2 separate regions of the Homo sapiens genome follow, and region 2 is linked to region 1. The links are contacts of gene promoters, found by promoter capture Hi-C in human tissues and cell types (Jung and others, 2019). All regions are on one chromosome and are shown on one strand. The core of a region is centred on a gene start or on the middle of the fragment in contact, and the rest is flanking DNA. Distances in the headings are between cores, read along the strand shown.

Region 1 (2,706 bases), core at 126-2,625:
GAACTCCCAGATTGCCGGTCTTGGACCCCGTAAAGGAAGATGTAGGAAGGCCCCAAATCAGGATCTAGTCCGCGGAGTTGCCTATTTGAGGGGAGTAACAATGGGGATTGGGAGAGACTTTTATGCTGAATTTCTAAACTCCCAGCTGAATCACGACTAGAACAAGGATAGCACCTCCTGAAGAGCAAAGTTTAGATCTCGTGTATCAACTGAATGATTCTTGAATCCTTTCTTCCCTTGCATACGAGCTAAGTAGGATGTCTTTGCAGCAGGAAATAAAGGGGAGAGGGTACAGAAACCCGGGTCTGGGAAATGGAGAGACTGGGCCACATTCATGGAGCCAGGAGGGGGAAATCAATGAGCATCATCTGACTTTGCAAAGGCTTTGATCCTTGTCTCCTTCCCCACTTCCGAGACTTTCCCATTCTTTCCTGGAGGTATGGCAGGTTATACATGGATCCATTCACCTTTGCGGGAGTCTTTGGCCACTGAACATAGTTAAAGAGCCTTTATTCCAATGTCTTGAAAATAGATGAAAATATTAAACAGAAGTGGAGCTGTTTGGCTCTTTTTGCAAGCCAGCAACGAGGATTTGGGCTTCCTTAAGTTATATGTGTTTAAGACAGTAATTTTTAAAAGTCATTATAAGGACTTTGGGCTGCAGGAACTCTCCCTGCCATTCACCGGCTTAATGGACATTGTGCCTTCTTGGGCATTCCTGTCCAGCCCGCGTCCGGGAGATACTCATCTCCTGCAAAGGAAGTTGCCTCTTTCCCCAAAGAGCAAATTTTCAAAACATGTAAGTTACAACTTGCTTCCCAACACTCCACTAAAAAAAAAAAAAATGCTGTTTCCCTTCCTTCTTGCCTCCATCCTACATCCCCCCGCTCCCCACTCCCTGCACCTTGACTCCCTATTTCAGTATCAGTGTTTAATTCTACACTCGCCTTTGGTGCAGCCCACGGGGGCGGGGTAGTGGGAAGCAAGGAAAGATGGTCGCCCACCTCATTCCCAAAACATGTGCACTTTTGAGGCTTCTGATTGGAACACATTGTCCCCAGACATCACAGAGCCTTGTGCTGTGGCTTCTGCGATGTCTTTGGAATTTACTAAAAACAGATAGACTAAGACCCCTCCCCACTCCACAACAAGCAAAAACACACACAAGCGCGCGGGCGCGCACACACACAAACACACACACCCCCTCAGTACCCCCCACCCCCTTTTTAAGCAATGCTTTGTTGTGCTAAAACTAGTTGGACGAGTTAGGGTGTTACTGTTGCTCCCGAGGCCCTGGCCAATAGAACCAGATCCACCCCGCTGTGCGTAAGCGCGCAATTAAGGATTTAACCAAGGCTGTGCTGCGCCTCAGCCAGCAGTCAGCCGGCCGGAGACAGAGACTTCACGACTCCCAGTCTCCTCCTCGCCGCGGCCGCCGCCTCCTCCTTCTCTCCTCCTCCTCTTCCTCCTCCTCCCTCGCTCCCACAGCCATGTCTGCTTAGACCAGAGCAGCCCCACAGCCAACTAGGGCAGCTGCCGCCGCCACAACAGCAAGGACAGCCGCTGCCGCCGCCCGTGAGCGATGACAGGAGTGTTTGACAGAAGGGTCCCCAGCATCCGATCCGGCGACTTCCAAGCTCCGTTCCAGACGTCCGCAGCTATGCACCATCCGTCTCAGGAATCGCCAACTTTGCCCGAGTCTTCAGCTACCGATTCTGACTACTACAGCCCTACGGGGGGAGCCCCGCACGGCTACTGCTCTCCTACCTCGGCTTCCTATGGCAAAGCTCTCAACCCCTACCAGTATCAGTATCACGGCGTGAACGGCTCCGCCGGGAGCTACCCAGCCAAAGCTTATGCCGACTATAGCTACGCTAGCTCCTACCACCAGTACGGCGGCGCCTACAACCGCGTCCCAAGCGCCACCAACCAGCCAGGTACATGGACAGGGGGAAGGCTGGGCAGATACAGGGCGACTAGGACGCTGGGGGCGCGAGATGGGGTGGTAGATTGGGGGTCACAGCGGTTCACGGCAGTGGGGGCGCACGCGGCAGAAGGGAGTAGGACTCAGACCCTCCAACAAAGAGAGTTTCTCGGGCCAGCATTTTAGGGATTTTTAGTAGGAGAGCCCTGTGGAGGTTCGAACTAGCGTCTCTCCCCTCCGGCACCTTCCAAGGCCCTTCAGTCGCTGAATTCCCAGCTTGCCCGGCCAGGAAGCCGGCTAGGCTGGAAAGGGGATAGGGGTGGAGAGAAGAAAGAATCAAGCAGCTCCTGGCGTTTGCGTAACAAAGAGAAGGTTACTTGGGAATTTTGGTAAGCGTGCTGGGTTGGTGCGAGTGGGAATAGAAGGCTGCCTCAAAAACTCAGTCAGGATTAGTTTGAGAGCCGCCACAAGCTAGCACGGTGCGGGTGCCCTGAGCACGCTGGGTGGGGGTGGGGGGGTTAAGGAGTTGTAGCCAGCCAGAGAAGAGCGCGCCGAGAGTTTTGCGGTTTATCCAGGCATTTCCAAAAACAAAAAGCCATTTAAAGGTGGAGGAGGGTTGCTGAGGGGTCACGTTGTAGGATAGATTTTTTTTTCTGTCTCCATAGGCGCCCACAATTTGTCTTTCCGTCCTCCTTTTTCGTCCGCTTTGAAACTTACTTAGAGAGTTTAAGAGGGTTAGTGAGCTTGGGCGGTAAGAGAAAGGCATGAGGCTCGGCGGAGAG
Region 2 (2,706 bases), core at 76-2,575, 1.2 Mb after region 1:
TGGATACTTCTAATGGGACTGGACAGCTGTAAGAAATAGATGACAGGTTGAAGTCTCTATATTTTAGATCTAGGCATAGACCCATGGACTTTCTCTGCTTGTGATAAGTATCTACAAAAATGTCAAAGTCAAATGCAAAGTTTAAATTCTGTGGGTTTCTGAATAAGGTCTGTGGAATTGCTAGTGTCACCAGGTGACTTATGTGAAAGTGACAGCAATGATCAGGAAATAATGGGAAATTGAATGTAGGTAAGAATACGGAGGCCTGGGAGTACCTCCAAACCATGTTCTACACTAAGCCTTGCTTGACAGCCAAAGACCTGCAGCCTTTCTCTTTGCATCTTCATCATCCTACCTCAGGGCTGAGCCAGTTCTCTATCTGTAGCCCTTGTCAATCTCACCTTCAACATGGAGCATCATGTCAGCAGGACCTGGAGAGGAAGCTGTAGCTGGTATCTTTAAGACCTAGTTAAGACATTATGTAGGCCAGAGGATGGAGGAAAAATCTTTGAAAACATAAGTACTCGCTACCTTAAGAAAGTCTCTATTGGTCTAGTCATCTGGTAAACTCCAAAGTATATGTGAATACCTTAATTCTCTAATATTAAGAGTCGAAATGCTTAGTGGGTCATTCTGGGTTTTGCAGGCAACATGTTCAACATTTGCACCTATTTATTCAATCCATTTACCCAGTGGTTTGAAAGTTTTTCTTTCAAATGGCTATACTACTTGGAAATTATGGTCCAGCTGACCCAATGGTGCCCCAAGTGTCTATGGCAAATCAAACAAATGTCCCTAAGAGGTGAGTCTCAGAAGAAGTGCTTAGATTTTAGAATAATAATGTGGCCTCTTTATTGCATTACTCTCCCTTTGAGAGAGATGTCTTGGTTTGCTACTGGGCCTGAGTAGAGATTAAACCTTGACCACAAGATACCAGGTGACTATCAAAACAAACTATGATTATGTACCAGGTTGTAGAAATTTCCTCCTCCTTCCTCCAGTGTGGCTTGCATCTTTCCAGCAGATTAAGAAATTCTCATTCCCCCAGGGGGAACATAGTGAACTTGGTGTTTCTAGAGATGTCTGGCATTATCTTTGTCGTTCAACAGCATTTCTTGGGTACTCAGGATAAGCCATGCACTCACTCACTATAATAAAGATGCAAAAGACTGGCTCCCTAAGCCCAGGACCTCATGGTTGGTACAGAAATGGGTTCATAATAGGCAACAGAGAGGCAGCCTTGGAGGGGACCATAATTTCGTTTTCCTTTCTTGCTACTTGGGAATAAAATTATGTGTTTCAAATATATTGGGGCAAAGGTATCCTTCTCCAAGTCAGTGTTGGCCATTCTTGGCCTTCTTTCCCTGCAGAGAAGGAAGGTCTAACCTTGTTGAAAGAACAGTATTCATGGAGAATTTATACTTAAATCTTGCTTATTTATATCACTGTCTGGAGTGTTTCTCATAACAGATCATTATGATCAAAAATTAATACTTACTATGATGAGAATGTTCATTACGGTGCACAGTACAGAAAGGATGCTTAAGCTTGGGCAAATCCAAAGTGCCTTCCCCTTCATTTTCAAAAGTAAAATGGGAATGTGTAAGAACTTGAATGCACTAGAATCCATTAGAGGCAGAACAAATCAATGCTCTGAGATCATTAGTTTGATTATCATTAAACTGTCCACAGTCAAACAATGACAAAAAATAATCAGCATGCCTTCTTACATTGTGGGCAACAGCAAGCCAAAGTGGATGTTATATATGCCAGAGCTTCAAATGTTAGCCACCCAAGAGCCTCATTGTGTCATAAAATTCCGTAGTTGTTTCCTGCCGCTGAAAGGCGCAGTTTTCATGAAAACATTGCCATGGCTCAAACCCCACAGTGGAGCCAACCCACATCTGCCGCATGGTAGAACCTCAGTGCCAACTGTCCACTGCTCCACGCAGCTCTCCTGCCAACCACCTCCCCACAGCAGGTGAAAGTGAGCACCAGCACCCTCTATGGCCGGGCAGCCGGGTGACTGCCGGCAGCCAAGGGTCAAGGCATCATCGCCTGTGGTGAGGGGCAGTTTGCTGAACCCAAATTGAAAGGTTTTTCTGTCCAAATCCATCCAGGATTGCTTAAATGTCAAGAACTATGGTAGCTAGCTTTGGGTTCTGTATTGTAATCTGAACCATGTAAATGCCCTTCACCACAAAAAAGCTTGATGGATCTTGTGAACAAAACAGAAAGAACTTCTGCCAATAGCTGAGAAATAAATTCCCCCTTTCCTGCTGCTTGGACCACAGCATAATGAGGGCTCCCAAGCTCTCCTTGCAGTAATAAAATGGAATGTACAGCCTTTTCCTTTTGATGTGCTCCAGTTTAAAACTTTAGAGCTGATGCCTTTTCATCCTTAATTTATCTTCCCTTGTAAATATTTCTTTACCACTTCCAATATCTTAAGTACACATTTTAAAAAATAATTCACTCCTTCTCCTATTTCAGTTGTATAACTTTATGCTATGGGTCAAGTTTTGGGCTAAATAAACATGCCTCCAGCTACAGCTCTGCAAATACCTCTGGCAGCAAATTAAGTCAAACAAATGTTTTGGTTGGGTGGTGAGGATGTTTTTTAACGATCTTCCTGTTCTTGTCTGGAGGCCCAAGGATAGACTAGGTGAACTCTCACAGGCTTTTCTAATTTTGTATTTTCTTTTT

What was found. The method cuts DNA at HindIII sites, captures the fragments that hold promoters and counts their contacts. A contact is called where the count stands out against the background at its distance.
Region 2: a contact is called between a fragment that was not itself captured here and the fragment with the promoter of DLX5 in region 1, in 1 of the 25 tissues and cell types used here (dorsolateral prefrontal cortex).

The regions. Positions count from the first base shown.
Region 1 is chr7:97,023,500-97,026,205 of GRCh38, reverse strand. DLX5 (distal-less homeobox 5) reads left to right here and starts at 1,375. Exons shown (of 3, transcript NM_005221.6): 1 at 1,375-1,937. The coding sequence starts at 1,583. RefSeq lists enhancers at 1-226, 1,153-1,869. The HindIII fragment of the contact is 6,057 bases long and covers 1-2,706 here.
Region 2 is chr7:95,871,372-95,874,077 of GRCh38, reverse strand. All of the region lies in intron 6 of DYNC1I1 (dynein cytoplasmic 1 intermediate chain 1), which reads right to left. Among named protein-coding and RNA genes, the nearest start is that of DYNC1I1, 100 kb to the right of the region's middle. The HindIII fragment of the contact is 6,812 bases long and covers 1-2,706 here.